2 separate regions of the Homo sapiens genome follow, and region 2 is linked to region 1. The links are contacts of gene promoters, found by promoter capture Hi-C in human tissues and cell types (Jung and others, 2019). All regions are on one chromosome and are shown on one strand. The core of a region is centred on a gene start or on the middle of the fragment in contact, and the rest is flanking DNA. Distances in the headings are between cores, read along the strand shown.

What was found. The method cuts DNA at HindIII sites, captures the fragments that hold promoters and counts their contacts. A contact is called where the count stands out against the background at its distance.
Region 2: a fragment that was not itself captured here is called in contact with the fragment with the promoter of SERPINB5 in region 1 in 1 of the 25 tissues and cell types used here (mesenchymal stem cells).

The regions. Positions count from the first base shown.
Region 1 is chr18:63,472,498-63,480,099 of GRCh38, reverse strand. SERPINB5 (serpin family B member 5) reads right to left here and starts at 3,142. Exons shown (of 7, transcript NM_002639.5): 1 at 3,055-3,142. RefSeq lists an enhancer at 3,194-4,393. The HindIII fragment of the contact is 6,902 bases long and covers 1-4,892 here.
Region 2 is chr18:63,507,466-63,515,067 of GRCh38, reverse strand. No RefSeq gene overlaps it. Among named protein-coding and RNA genes, the nearest start is that of SERPINB12, 31 kb to the left of the region's middle. RefSeq lists an enhancer at 3,349-3,869. The HindIII fragment of the contact is 6,170 bases long and covers 223-6,392 here.

The DNA of each region.
Region 1 (7,602 bases), core at 1,893-4,392:
AGTCTCCCAGGCCACCCACGCAGGGAGTGAGAGTGGCAAAACCAGACCTAGAATTCATTGCTTCTAGCTCCCAGCCTGGCACTTCCCCGCCACACCTGATCACCTGCTTTCTTGTTAATTGCATCTTTGCTGGCATTTGTTCTCTCAGAAGTCTCTCGAGTTCCAAAAATCCTGCATGTCCTGAAGTCTCCCCTTGAAGATATCAACATATCCTGCATGGTTTGTTCAATCGACACAAAACTTCTTCCCTATGATTTTCCTACTTGAAGAAGCCCTTGTTCCCTTTCTGCCACTTATGTTGTAAACTCTTGGTATGATGTTGCTTTCATCTAGTAAGTATTAACTGAGTACCTAATTTGTGTCAGGGTAAGCATTAAGAAAAGGTGAAAACGACATAGCCCCTGCCTCCAAGGAGCTGTCAGTTAGTGGTATGATGACTGTTTTAAGTGTTTTGATGAGCACCCAAGTCACTATGGGATCCCCAGGAGTGACAGACCCCCCATACTAGAAACCTCAGTGACACCTCCTCAGAGACAGTGACAACTGAGTAAGTCACATTAAAGGTGAGTCCTACAGGATAAGTAGGAGTTAGCCTTGCAAAAACGTGGGACAGGGAGAACTGACTCAATTCAGAGAGGCCCCAGTGAATGGAGACGCATGTACTGGGCTGGGGGTAGGGCCGTGCTCACTTCTCTAGACTTATAGCTTGTCACTGGTCTTTGTATGAAGATTTCCTAAGTTTTTTATGCATCTGAGCCAATGGTCCTCACATTTTTTGTCTTTAGACCATTTAGGTGAGAAAAAAGTCCTGTGGGTAGGATATATACATCCCACTTTGCCTGGGACAATCCTGGTTTATGTCTGTTGTCTTGACATTGATAACAGTGCCCCGTTTACTCTCAAACATATCCTGATTTGAACAATATATGTTCATTTTACTTATAGACCATCAACCACACTCTTCACCCACACATCACGGGCGTGCATATTTAAACAGAGCTATGAGTATAGTTTTTTCATCCCTTAAAACCTTAACTTTTGGCCGGGTACAGTGGCTCACACCTGTAATCCCAGCACTTTGGGAGGCCAAGGCGGGCAGATCACTTGAGGTCAGGAGTTCGAGACCAGCCTGGCCAACATGGTGAAACCCTGTGTCTACCAAAAATATAGAAATTAGCCGGGCGTGGTGGCACGTGCCTGTCATCCCAGCTACTTGGGAGGCTGAGACAGAAAAATCACTTGAACCTGGGAGGGTGAGGTTGCGGTGAGCCAAGATCGTGCCACTGCACTCCATCCTGGGTGACAAAGCAAGACTCCATCTCAAGAAAAAAAAAAAAAAAACTACGTTTTTACTGTGTCAGAGTATCGTAGATATCATTTAGCCTGGCCTGCCTCATTTTAAAGATGGAAAGACATGGTGAAAAACATCTCTCAAGTATTTGGTATAACCAGTCCTTAGGGAATGCCATGAGAAACCTTGCCTATTATAATATCAGTAATGGAATGCCAAAAAACACAACCTCTGTTGTCCACATTCTAAGTCTTTGAGGAGCAAAGGATGTGCAGGATTAAGAAAATAGGATATTTTGAAGTTTCTGCAATGTGAAAGACTATGAGGACTAAACGAAGTGATTAAGTGAATCAATGTATATGAAAAGTGCTTTGTGGGCAAGAAAGTACAATACAGCTATTAGTAATTGCTTTAATTTCCCATGGCAGGGGGGCGTCTGCTTTGCTCTGAAGCATCATAGCTGCTCCTGTCTCTTTAGAAGCCTGATCTTGACCACTGACCCAGCCCACTGTTGCCAAGCAGTAAACTTACAGCCAGACTCAGCCACACCAGAATGGCCCAAATCGCTGAGACTGCATAGCCCCAAAGTCAATCCACAACCCAGAGGGATTGAAGTGGCACAATTCAAGGCGTTAGGAAGCAAAGATATAAACCTGCTGACTCATTTCCTTTGGAGACTCCTTTCCTCAGACAGGCTTCATCTCCACCCATGAAGGAACTCATCGAACACTTACACTAACTGACAGGGACTGAGGTTTGGAACCCATTATCGAAAACCTCCCGGGAGATGTAGGGGATGAAAAAGATGGTAACAGAACCCACGGTGTTGTGGAAACATCCCGAGCTGCAAGTGTGAAGGCCTGATTTGATCTCAGCGGTGCTACTTACAAGCTGTGTGCCTTTGGACACCAGATCACCTCTGTGAGTTCTGCTCCTCATCTACAGAATGAGGGGGCTGGGCTGAAATATGTCTAAGAGCCCCCAGCTCTGAGGATCTGGTTACAAGTCTCTGGAATAGCCTGGCATGTTGGTTTTTAGTATGATATGCTTAAATGAAGCCATAAGAAAAAGTGTACAGCATATGAGTAAGAAACTACAAGCAGCTATTACAATTTATAAGTCCAAGAATATGCATCTGAAATGTGTAACTTGTTTAAAGTTATGCTGAAACCCAGAAAACTGAAGGGAGAATAATTTCCGCTTAGAAGAATGCAGTTGCAAGTAGATGAACAGCGATCTGATGCTTAAAAATGCCAAAAAGAAGGGCAGTCCATATGCCTAAATCTCAGCCTTACAACGTCAGCCAGGGAGAAGAGCCAGCCAGACCCACCAATACTTCTCAACTTTCCCCAGTTTGCGGGTACCACACCCTTTCTGAAACTAGCATTGCAAAATTCATTCTGAGTTCCAAAGTAGGCCTGAAAATGTCCTCAGAAGTATTTTCTCCTCCGTGAATCACGGTTGCACCCCTCTACCACCAAAACCTCCGAGCCACGTGACTTCTTCATATTCTTACCTTGTATGGTTAAGTGATTTTACTCCCTCTGCAGTGTTCCTGGTGCTCAAAGGGTTGGGAGCTGGAAATACTGCCAACATGGGGGATGAGAGGCGACAGTACTCAACCCAACAGCCCGTCTTTGAAAACAGCCCCAAAATGGACCTAAGTCCATTTTGTTCACCATCTCAAATCAGCTCAAATAACGATATTTATGAATTTCCCTGAAAAAAGGAAGTCACCAGCCCTGCTACCCCACCTTGCTTACCTGGAGTCACAGTTATCCTGGAAAATGCGTGGAAAAGGAACAGGCAAGCGAGGAGCACAAAGACCTGGATGTGGAGGCGACCGTGTCTGGGCAGAAGCAGCGGTGGCTCACCTGGGCAGCACCGCCACGCCCACTGCCAGCCCAGCTCCACGCCCCGCCCCGCCCCGCCTCGGCGGCACTCCTCTCCTACTCAAGCCTCTTGGCAGCTTGTCCACAATTGAAAGAAATGATTCAGGCTGAAGTTACTGTTGTCTGCACAGCTTCCAAAAGGCCTCCAACATGTTCGGGCAGGAAGGGGCTGTGAGTTACATGCATACGTACAGACATGCGTACGGCAATCCTCTCGGCCCACGCAGGACCGGAAGGTGAAATATTCGATGAAATAAAAGTAATGTGTGATGATAGTAACACTACAAATTTCTCAGACACGTTGGTGGCACAAAAAGTACTCTGATCTCCATTCTTTTTGTGTAAACTGCAGCAGCTCATTCTGCTAGATGCCAAGAGAGGTAGCTGCCCATTAAACAGAAAGACAATCAAAAAAGAAGGAATGGATATATGTATAAACACAGTGCCTACCTAAAAATTAGGTACTATTAGCAAAATATTTACTACCAAATTGGTAGGAGATATTGTTTAATGGGTGGCGCAGGAAGTTTCTTTTTAAAATCCTGTGATTAGGATTACTCAGGCCTGGCGCGGTGGCTCACGCCTGTAATCCCAGCATTTGGGGAGGTTGACGTGAGCGGATTGCTTGAGCCCAGGAGTTTGAGACCAACCTGGGCAACATGGTGAGACCCCATCTCTACAAAAAATGTAAAACAATAGCCTAGTGTGGTGATGCATGCCTGTGGTCCCAGTTACTTGGAAAGCTGAGACGAGAGGATCACTTGAGCCTGGGAGGTCAAAGCTGCAGTGAGCCGTGAGCTAACCACTGTACTTCAGCCTGGGTGACAGAGCAAAAGAAACAAAAAGAAAAAGGAGTACGCAGCTCTGCTCTGAAATCTCTTCGTGGAGCCTGTTCTTGTCCTCCTGTCTTCCCACAGCTTCTTCATTTGGCGGGACCTACTCCCTTCCAGCCGAATCAGTCTCAGGAAAGGACCTGAAACGGAGCTGGTTGCTTCTCTGCTGTGCTTATCTAGAATTCCCTATTGTACATTTACTACATTGTTTCATAATAATCTCTTACATTCTCCTATATGTGACTACAACAATGTTAAAGGTAAGTGCCAAACTTCATTCATTTTTATAACACCAAAGCTTGGTACAGACCTGATGTACAGTATGCAGTCAATAAGTGCTTGTTGAGTAATGAATAAGAGCAACTCGCTATATTAACTGACTAAACTAAGATTGATAACAGCTTCCCCTCCCCCATGTCCTGGGTATTTTAATGTTAACCAGAATCAAAGTCATAAACTAAGTGAACTCCAAAAACAGAATTTTAGGCATCAGTGGAGCAAGTGGAGGGAAGGTCATAGGTGAGGAGGTGTGGAAGGATGCTTCTTAAAAATTCTATTATCCAGCTGTAGGAGGGAAAATGAGAATTTGGGAGCAGAGTCATAAATTTGCAAACTAAGTCTAACCACTCATTGCTTGAGAAATCCTGAGCAAATTGCTTAATCCCTTTATCTTCAGATTCCTCATCTGTAAAATGAGATCTATATATAGTTCTCATTTGTCAATAAGATCGATAAAATGAGATATAGACAGAGATGGATGAAGAGACAATTCTTACATACTTTCTGACACATAGCATGTGCTTCCTAATGATGGCAATTAGTACCACTTTGCCCATTGGTTAGGTAGGCTCGGGGAATAGTGGACAAAAGACTGGAGCATGTTATTGACATTGAATTCACCACATTTATTGAATACCTGCTTCGTGCTTGCTACTGTGGTCTACAGATTTCAAGCGACTTGCATTTAAATGGTAGAGCCTCTCTATTCTCCTTTTTGAAGTTTTAATTCCCTCTAAAACACTCCTGTTCAGTGCTTGCTCAACCGGGGCAGAAACATTTCCAATGACAGGAATTCAACAATACCCAAGGAAGTTCTAGCAAAGTGAAATGCCTTTGGGTGATTCTAACTGGGTGAAAATTAGAGGCACCATTCGACTGGGGCTATAAGACATGTTCCCTCTCCCCAAAGGGTACAGTAGGAAGACAAGAAACAAAAGAAAGTATCTGGAGGCATGTAATAAGGGACTTAAGAGAGGTGCAAATGACAAAAGTAGTTCAGAGATGGGTGTGACCTTTTCAGTCTGGCTATGACTGGGGAAGGATCATGGAGGCAGCATCATTGGACATCAGGAGACCATTTAAGCCTGAGAACGGAGGTCCAGAGCTGGGATGATACAAGGTATATTGGACAGATATGTTAACAAAAGATTAAACAGAACATTTCCTGTCAAAAGCTTTCACTTGTTGAAGTATCTCTGGAGGTCAGACCCTGTACGTGAATGTTCTCACCCTCTCATTGAACCCAAGTAAGGCAAGGACTCACAAGTCTCAGGTGTAACATCATTGACAAAACACACTGTTGATTTAGGCAAAATTGCAGGAAAAAAAAAAGTGGTTCCCATTCAGTGGAAAGAGTATTAAAACTGTGATTCTATTTGACTGAGAAGACCCATTTCCCAGTAATATTCTTTTCCACGGCAGCCAAAATTTTAAGTTCTTTAGAATTCTACCTAAAAAGACACTAGAAAACAGAAAAGTGGGAGAGGATGGAGTTATACAAGCAGTTCACATTTTTTAAATTACAGAATTTCAAACTAGTTTCTGGAGAACATGCCTGCTGATTAATTTTAGGAAAGAGTGGCCTCAATAAAGTCTTCTGCATTCAATAGGTTTCTACTCTGCTTCCCTGTTTTAACTGGACATTTTGATTGGAGTCTGTGATTGACTGAATAAGCATTTTTTGAGTGTGTCAGACCCTGGGCAAGACCCAGAATAAGACCTAACTATGGATCTCAAGCCGACTACAGTTTAGCTTTGCATTTCTATAAGTCAGATACCTACACTAATTGTTATACTGTAAAAAAAAAAAAAAAAAAAAAAAAAAAACATACATCCTGAAGGAAATGCCTGGAAAGAACAAAGTTGTCATGTCAATTATGTTAACAAGTGGACTTAGAAGCATCAGACTTATAAGAAAAAAGGTTCTACTCATACTAATAACTCAGAGAGCAACAACATAAAAATAACAATATGGTGTTATTATCCTGTTATAATCTTCAGTCTCTTGCCTCATGAAAAGCTTTTTATGTGGGCCCATGAATAGTCAACTCCAGAGTATTTTTGATCTCCCTTCTTCTTGATGAACTTTGAACCTATAAGAAGCAGATATAAGGCCAGATTTTATAGTTTTCTATATGATATACTATACAATTCACTTATTATGTTTACTGTTGATGGCCTCCTTCAGCTGAAATCTAAGCAGATTTTTTTGGTCTGTTTTTTTCACTGATGTAGTCCAAGAACTTAGAATAGTATCTGGCACATAGTGGGTACTTAGCACATAGTGGGTAGAGAATGAATGAGTGGGAAATAACCCTACCCGACAGGAATTCAACTAAGGATGAATTCAACCCAAAATTTGAAGTCAGTTTGACATTTCCTTAAATACCAGCTACCTTTCCTCCAGTTCTCTTTGTATATGAAGACCAGTACATCTGATTCATCCCAAACACTTTACATTTGTAAAATAAATGATTCTTTTTTTTTTTTTTTTTTTTTTTTTTTTTTTTTTTTTTTTGAGACGGAGTCTCGCTCTGTCGCCCAGGCTGGAGTGCAGTGGCACGATCTCGGCTCACTGCAAGCTCCACCTCCTGGGTTCATGCCATTCTCCTGCCTCAGCCTCCCAAGTAGCTGGGACTACAGGCGCCCGCCACCATGCCCAGCTAATTTTTTTTTTATTTTATTTTTTAGTAGAGACGGGGTTTCACCTTGTTAGCCAGGATGATCTTGATCTCCTGACCTTGTGACCCACCTGCCTCAGACTCCCAAAGTGCTGGGATTACAGGCGTAAGCCACCGCACCCAACCAAATAAATGATTTATTTAAAAAAATTTAGTGACAAAGAATACACCTGTTTGTAGGAAAAAGCATTTGCTCTATAATTTCAAAAATAATCCATAATGTTTTCCCCTCTCTTTATTTGCCACAAAAACCATTTTATTGACTATATATTTAAAAGAGTAGATTTTTTGGAGGGGAGATACATAGCTCAAAGAATGAATTATTCATTCATTCATTATACAATTGTATGAAGCAATAACTTCCTCTAGTTCAACACAAGTAATCATTGGACTAAATATTTAATAACCTAGGAGACTGTTTTGTTGGTGCTTTTTCTTACCTATAGGTTGAAGCTTTGCAAATATTATACTTGATTACTCAGCATCGAGGCTGAGGGATGATTTGACACACCCAGCCACTCCCAGGAACAAATGAAAGGAGCTTTGTTCTAGCATGTGCCTCTCGCTTTCTCTCTCTCTCTCTCTCTCTGTCTCGCTCTCGCTCTCACTCAATCTCTCTCTTTTCC
Region 2 (7,602 bases), core at 2,058-4,557, 35 kb before region 1:
AAAGACCAAGGCCTCGGTCTTTGACGCAGCAGCCAATATTTCTCCCACACTCAGAGATCCTAAGTCAATGCCTAGATGTACTTTATTTTACTATCTTACGTGGTATCTTGAACGAATGGTATTAGTTTTGTTGTATCTGGAAAGACTCCAAGAAAATAAATAATGAATCAATCAATCAAACAGTGTTTTCTTTTTGTTGTTTTTTTTTTTAATCATGGGTCATCTTTTAGGTTTGACCCCGTGTTTAAATGAAAATTCTGTTTCGCACTGTTAGAGAAGACAATGGCAAAGCTAGAAGTACAAGTTGCGAGGGAGGGGTTTAGCGAACTCATCCAGGATTGTCTTAAATATTAGGCAAATGTTAAATATACTTCACTTAAAATTATTTTAAATCCGGGATAAATGCTAATAAGACCTTCTGAAAACAGCTGTAACGTGAGTACTGTCTCTATGCTTATAAAGAGCAATCTCCAATCCCTTCCTAAATTACCTCCACACCGCCATTTGCATGCCAAGAGCTCAGGTGAATCTCAGCTGCAGCAGGAGAGGGGCTGACTGAGCTTTGGACAAGGCGCTCTCCTCTCCTATGGAGGAAGATAGAAGTGACCTCGTTCTTCCCCTTCCTTTACAGGGAAGAGGGTTAAGCTATAGGCTACTCGCTAAAGGTTACTTACATAAACTTAAACTAGTAGGAAACTGAGGTGTACAAAGGTAAGAGGAAGCAAATCAAATTTTTCTTGAGTTTCAGAGTGGGCTTCCTTTATGTTGGCATTCTTTAATCTTTGGAGATGACTTTTCACCTCACAGGTGGGTGCCTTGGATAACAGGTTTCCAGGATTTGTTCCCTTAAGTTTTGTTCCCTTGTCATAGCTTTACTCGTCAGGAATTTGCAATTGAAATGGGCTGAATTCCTTCTGTGGATAATATTAACGTGCTAATAGAGCAAGAAAACCCTGCAGACTTGCCTCCGAAATCATTCTTGCTCAGGTCAGTGAAAATGCAATAGGAACTTTTCAGTCTGTAAGGGAGCTGGGTCTTCTGTAGCACTGGGCTCTTGGCTCTCCAAATCACTCCCTTCTTAAAATCATCCCGTCTCTCTATGGCTCCTCTTCCTTGGCGGGCCACCCATCCTGGCTTCCCTGGGTTCTGCCCTCAGCCCACTCTCTTCTCCTGATGCTCTCTCCCAGCCATGGTTTTGGACCCCACCATAAGCTGATTCATCTCTCGCCTCTAGAAACACTAGTATCCTTTCCTGTCTCTTGCTGAATGTCCCATTGGCATCTCAAAATCAACATAGCTAAAACTAAAAGCAACTAAAAGCATGTTAAAAATGAAAACAAACAAAAAACCCTACTCCCCATCCTGCCCTTTTTTTTTTTTTTTTTTTTTTTTTTTTTTTTGCTGTTAGAAAAAAATGCAACCCCACCTTTCTTGGGACAAAAATTTCATAGAAGTCAAAAATGGCAACAGACCTCTAGATAAAAGCATTAGCAGAGTTCCAGTCAGAATACTGCACTCCCTTAATGCTCAATTTAAAATGAAACCTAAAGCAACAGAATACATTGAGTATAATGTTTCTTAAGAGAATTCATCAGCAGATCTATACCATTAAAGTATTAGCAAGAAGGTATGTTTCCATTGAATTACTTAGTATGTTCCTATAGTACAGCCAAAAGAGATGCACACACATCAATGGCTATCAACAAAATGTTAATATGAACGCACCTGCATACTTCTCTCCCTTTATCCTTCCTTCTGCCCCTCTGCTGCCAACCTGGTAAACAAGTTGTAATATACACTGCTCAGAGGCAGTTTAACAATTCCATGTCCATGATGCCTCTTTTATGTCAATTACAACAAAAAGATATTTACAAACCAGCTAATTGGCTAACTCTTTTTATTCTACATTTTCAATTCAGGACACCTATGAAACTTAGATGTTGCAAAATAATAAACTTTGTCCATAATAAACACAGGGACTTTTCTAAAAATGTTCATAGAGGCCTATGGTTATCATCTGAAACCATCTTCCAGATCTGGAGATGCCAGCAGAGAGCCCTGCCCTTCAAAACGGAGTCCTGTACACAGTCACACTGCACTTCCCATGTCCAAGATGGTTCCATTAAGTTGTATAAGCCTGAAAATGAAGAACCATCACAATACCCCTGTGGTCCTTCACCCACACATCCCTACCCAATAAATCACCACACCCATTTGTGTCTACACTGGGAAAATGGCTCTCCAGAGCGCATATCCTGATATCCCCTTCCCATCCCCACCACCACTGCTGAAGCTGAGGCCTCACACACTCTCACCTGGGTTACTTCAACTCCCTCCTCACCTGTATCCATTCTTTCAGGCTTCACCAGCCACTGGCCAGGTACACTTTTCAAAAATGCAAATCTGAGCTCTCCTCTGCCCTCCTTTCAACTACTGAGACTCTCAGGAGGCTCCATGTCTGTGGCAGTCTGTGGATTCTGAAACTTGGCCATCATGACGTAAGTATAGAAATGGAGATTATGAATCTAGAAACTGTTAGGAAAACTTCACCAAGTAATTTTATGTATGTCGAAACTAATCATGAAAAGCTAGGGCTTCTGTTTTGGGTGTCTTCATTTTTTTATTTTACTTTCCTTGGAACTCATATTTATTTTGTTTTACTTAAGTATTGGTCTATGATGAATTGGTAATATAAAGGGGGAAACTGTTCCTTCACCGTAGGTAGTTTGACAGGCACCTCTGTGAATTGTCTTCCTCCTCCTGATCGTCCTTGGGATGAATTTCAACCTCCTAGAGTGTTGGGGTGTCATGCACAGTCCTGCCTACACTCACCACCCACCGCGACCCCACAGCCATTTCCTTTCTCCTGAGTCCTTGCTGTGTGTGGGCCACTAGCCCCCCGGCTTTGTTTTCCTAACTAATTCCTGCTGGTCCTTTCAGACTCAGCTCAGACTGAGCCGGGAGTCCTCCTTCTTGCTCCAGCGCCCCTCCAATAACCCATCGCAGCTCTGCTCGCGGCTCACTTTCTCTTACACGGCTATGAGCTCTGTGTCTTATTCCTACCTCTTCTCCCACACTTTGGCCAATAAGTTTTTATCCAAAGAATTAATGAAAAGATGAGTAATTAGATTGACGAAAATTTCCTTGATAACCTTGTGGACAAGATGGAGACAGCAAATGAGGGTCTAGTTAGGTCGTTTCAGATAGCTGTCTATTGGATGCTCAATACAATGTTATTAAATGAAAAAATAAATTTATGACTGGGAATGAAGTGCTTAAAATTATTGAATACAGAGTGCAAATCTTCTTTAATGCTTACTATACCTCCATTATCAGTGCCTGTGATGAATTTTGGTAACAAAGAGAACAATATCCAAATGGTCTCCTGTTCGCCAGCTCAGGCAGGCCAACTCTGAGGCCAGCAACATTGCAATGACACCTGCCCAACGATGGGAAAACCTGTTCTCTATGTGGAAAGCCATTGACCTAATTATCCAATCCGCGGAGTTCCTGCTTTCCCCTAAATCAGCAAGAAGAATTAAGGGCAAGAGAAAACAGCTCATCCTAACTTCCCAGCACCTCCCTCTAGCGGCTGACTAAATTTAGCTATCGACAGCAGCTCTTGACAAAGGAAAGAAGGCTTGTTTATTTGGGTGCTGTGCACAAGTGTCCATCTCTCCAGTACCCAGGCTTTGGTTCTTAGGCATCCAGCTCCCTTTATCCAGGCATCCTCCCTAAGGAAAGATGGAACTAGAGATGGCAACGACTCCTTTTGGACCCCAGGTTGACTCCAGTCAGGTCTCAGCATGTCATCACGGCTATCAGACTGCTCCTTGCAATAAATCAGCTGATACCAGCGCCCCTCACTCATGCTCTCCCCCAGGGTATGTCCATCCTCCTAAGCAGAGCCTACTTCTCATCAGCTTATTTGCTCCTAAAATCTATATACTCCTAATTGCCCTAATTTTACAGAGGATCATTATCTTAGCAAGGTAACATATCGAATTGATGATGATGATGTCAGTAATGGTAATGATAGTAGTACTGAAGATGTAATGATGCTCTTTTTTCTTCTGCAAATTTTTCTGAGTACTGAACAGGGCCACTGCTAGCCTATACCCTATCTTTTTGTGAATGCAAAAGAGGTGACCCTTTCTCAGACAGGCACAGCCCCACACCCTGGAGCCCTGCTATGCAAGTGGACTACAAGCTTGACTTCAGCTCCCTCTAACCATCTCTGTAGGATATCCTTGTGCAGGGATCTACCTACACACCTGTATGCAATGGTGCTCGTGTGGGCAACAGCCTGAATAAACAGTAAAAGACTAGGCAGCCTGCAAGAAAGAGGCAAGTCTGTGTTTATATTTGGGCAGGGGAAAAGCAGCTATATGGTGTGGAAGAGAAGTTGGTTGCATTGTCTTGACATTTCCTACCTCCCTCAGTAACTTTGGGATTGCTGGAAAGAAAAAGTCATTTCACCACTAATATGTGGTCCTAGAATTGACATAACAAGTGAGTCTTTGCCTCACTTGTTCTCATTTTCCTGCCAAAGTTGGGGGGAGGGGGGCGGCGCACATAGCAATCATGCCTCTTCACCTTTGGGAGGACAACCTTTGTTCCTAGTGTCAGAGAGGAGTGTCAGACCCTTGACCATGCTTTTAGGGATGGAAATGGCAGCCGTCTCCACATAGATGGATGGGTGAGGGATGGCTCAGGATGGAGGATTTGTTTGGGCCCCGTGAACTATTAGCTTCAAGAGGAATCTCAGAAATCCCTGAGATAAAGACCCTCCCTCCCTCATATACAGGTATTGATAGGAGTGGTTTGGTTGCTGGAATCCAGGGCTTCCTCCCACACCAGGGTTCTTTCCATAGTATCCACATGGCAACCGGAAAAATCTTGATTTTTCTTACTAAGTCTATTTCCCAGCTAAGTTGACTTTTCCCAAAACTCACTCTACTAAACAATTGTCCTCCAAGATGCAGGGTGACTACCAGGTTTAGAGGTCGTATAAATTTAAGAAACCAGGACGGGCACGGTAGCTCACTGCCTGTAATCCCAGCACTTTGGGAGGCCAAGGTGGGCGGATCGTGAGGTAGGAGATCGAGACCATCCTGGCTAACACAGTGAAACCCCGTCTCTACTAAAAATACAAAAATTAGCCGGGCGTGGTGGCGTGTACCTGTAGTCCCAGCTACTCTGGAGACTGAGGCAGGAGAATGGCGTGAACCCGAGAGGCAGAGCTTGCAGTGAGCCGAGATCATGCCACTGCACTCCAGCCTGGGCAACAGAGCGAGACTCCGTCTCTAAAAATAAAATAAAATAAATAAGGAACGAGACACTGTACCCTCCTCCAGATATTCAGAAAAGACGTCAACTGCGTCAATTTTTTTTTTTTTTTTTTTGAGGCAGAGTCTTGCTCTGTTGCCCAGGCTGCAGTGCAATGGTGCAATCTCCTTTCACTGCAACCTCCGCCTTCCTGGTTCAAGTGATTCTCCTGCCTCAGCCTCCTAGCTAATTTTTGTATTTTTAGTAGAGTCAGGGTTTCACCACGTTGGCCAGGCTGGACTCGAACTCCTGACCTCAGGTGACCCACCTGCCTCAGCCTCCCAAAATGCTGGGATTACAGGCGTGAGCCACTGCGCCCGGCCACATCAACTTCTTGAAAGCTTGAAGAGTACTGCAGAACCTGTTTAATTTGGTTCAAAACAGCTTTTTCAAGATTTTTCAACCACGGACTCCTATTTCATAGCAGCTTCTCATACCCTACACAACTACTGTTCCTCCAGACACACTTTCAGAAACACAAGACGATCTTGTTTTATGTCATCAGAGAAGCCCTCATTAGATGCAAGAGGCAACCAACACAAACACATAGATCACCTGCCCATTCAAACTCTATTTTCCATCCATTGAAAATATGCCTTGGTATTTATTTTACTGTGTGATAGATCCTGTCCCAGGAGATGTGAGAAGTGCAAAGCAGCCTGTGATAGAGACAGGGAGGGCTGTCATTTCAGGCCACGTGCAACTGGCAAGACTCCTCAAATGCGGTCAGAAGTTCCAGGGACACGTCTGTATCTATCTCATCTCTAATGGAGAATAATGCCATTTCCTTTGTCTGTTCCAGGCCTTGGGAGAGGAATAGTCATTTGCCGTTAGTGAAACAGTTTGATCTCTTTTCTCAAAAAGCTTTCACAAACTCAAGCAGCTGTTACTGTCTGGCAGAGGATGGTGACAAGGACAAAAGAACAGGGAAACGCCCATCACCTAAATCTTCCATGACTGTAGGGTGGGGTTGAGGGTAAGAATGTTGTGCTAGTGGTTTCTAGTCCAAGAGCTAAAACTTAGAAGGGAAGTCTTTTTAATCTGATATAAATCACAAATGCCATACAGTTGACTGAACAGGACTCCTGAGAAAGAAACAGAATTTTCCAAAAATTACATTTAACCAGACATATTTGAAAAGCAAGTATTTATGGAATGTTTACTTATTATGTAAACATTTAACTTTTATTTTTATCTACATTCATTTGTCTTCTATTCAACATAACATTTCATTTTTAACATAGAGGAAAATCTGCCCTTGAAGCTTTTTGTTTTGTTTTTTCCTATGAATCATCAATTTCTTGATGCAAAGCAACCAACACTAAACAGGCTAAAGGGACTTTAGGTCTCTTTCATTTTTTATTTGTAAAAATGTATGGGCACACATGAAATTTTGTTCCATGTCATGTGTAAAATGTGTAGTGATCAAGTCAGGGTATGTGGCTGTCCATCACCCAAGTACAATACATTTTTGTTAAGTACAGTCACCCTACTCTGAAATCAAACATTGACTCTATTCCTTCGATCTCACTATATGTTTGTACCCTTTAAGCCACTTTTCTTCATCTTCCCCTCCTCCCCCAGCTCACCCCTCCCAGTCTCTGATCTCTATCTTTCCACACTCTACCTCCATGTGATCAAATATCGTAGCTCTCACATATAAGTGAGAACATTTAATATTTGTCTTTTTATGTGGGTTATTTCACCTAAGATGATTAATCTGTCTTATTTTACTTCAGATAATGACCTTCAGTTCCATCCATGTTTCTGCAAATGACATGATTTAATTCTTTTTTATGGCCAAATACAAGTAAGTTTTGTAATATAATCAAATCATAGTGATTAAAAAGTATGGACTGTGGAGTCAGAGAGCTGGGGTTTAAGTCCTAACCATATAACTCAGTAGCCATCTGTGCTCAGCAAGCTTTTTTGTGTCGCATGTCTGAACTTTAGCACCTTTCACCTCAAATGGTGCCCCATAGGGTTGCTGTGGAAGCTGAATTATAACATATGTCATGTCTAGCAAAGTGTCTGGCTCATAATAATTTCTCCAAGAATGGCAGTGGTGATGGTAGGAGTCATAGTTGGAAAAAGTAATCACTCATAATTATTATACAATCATAATGAAAGATAGAGAGGCACTGGGAAAACCACTAAAATATATATATACATTTTATATATATATAAAATGTATATATATATAATATATATATGTGTGTGTGTAACAATCAGGAATGCACACATATTTCACCAAAAAACATGTACTAGAATATT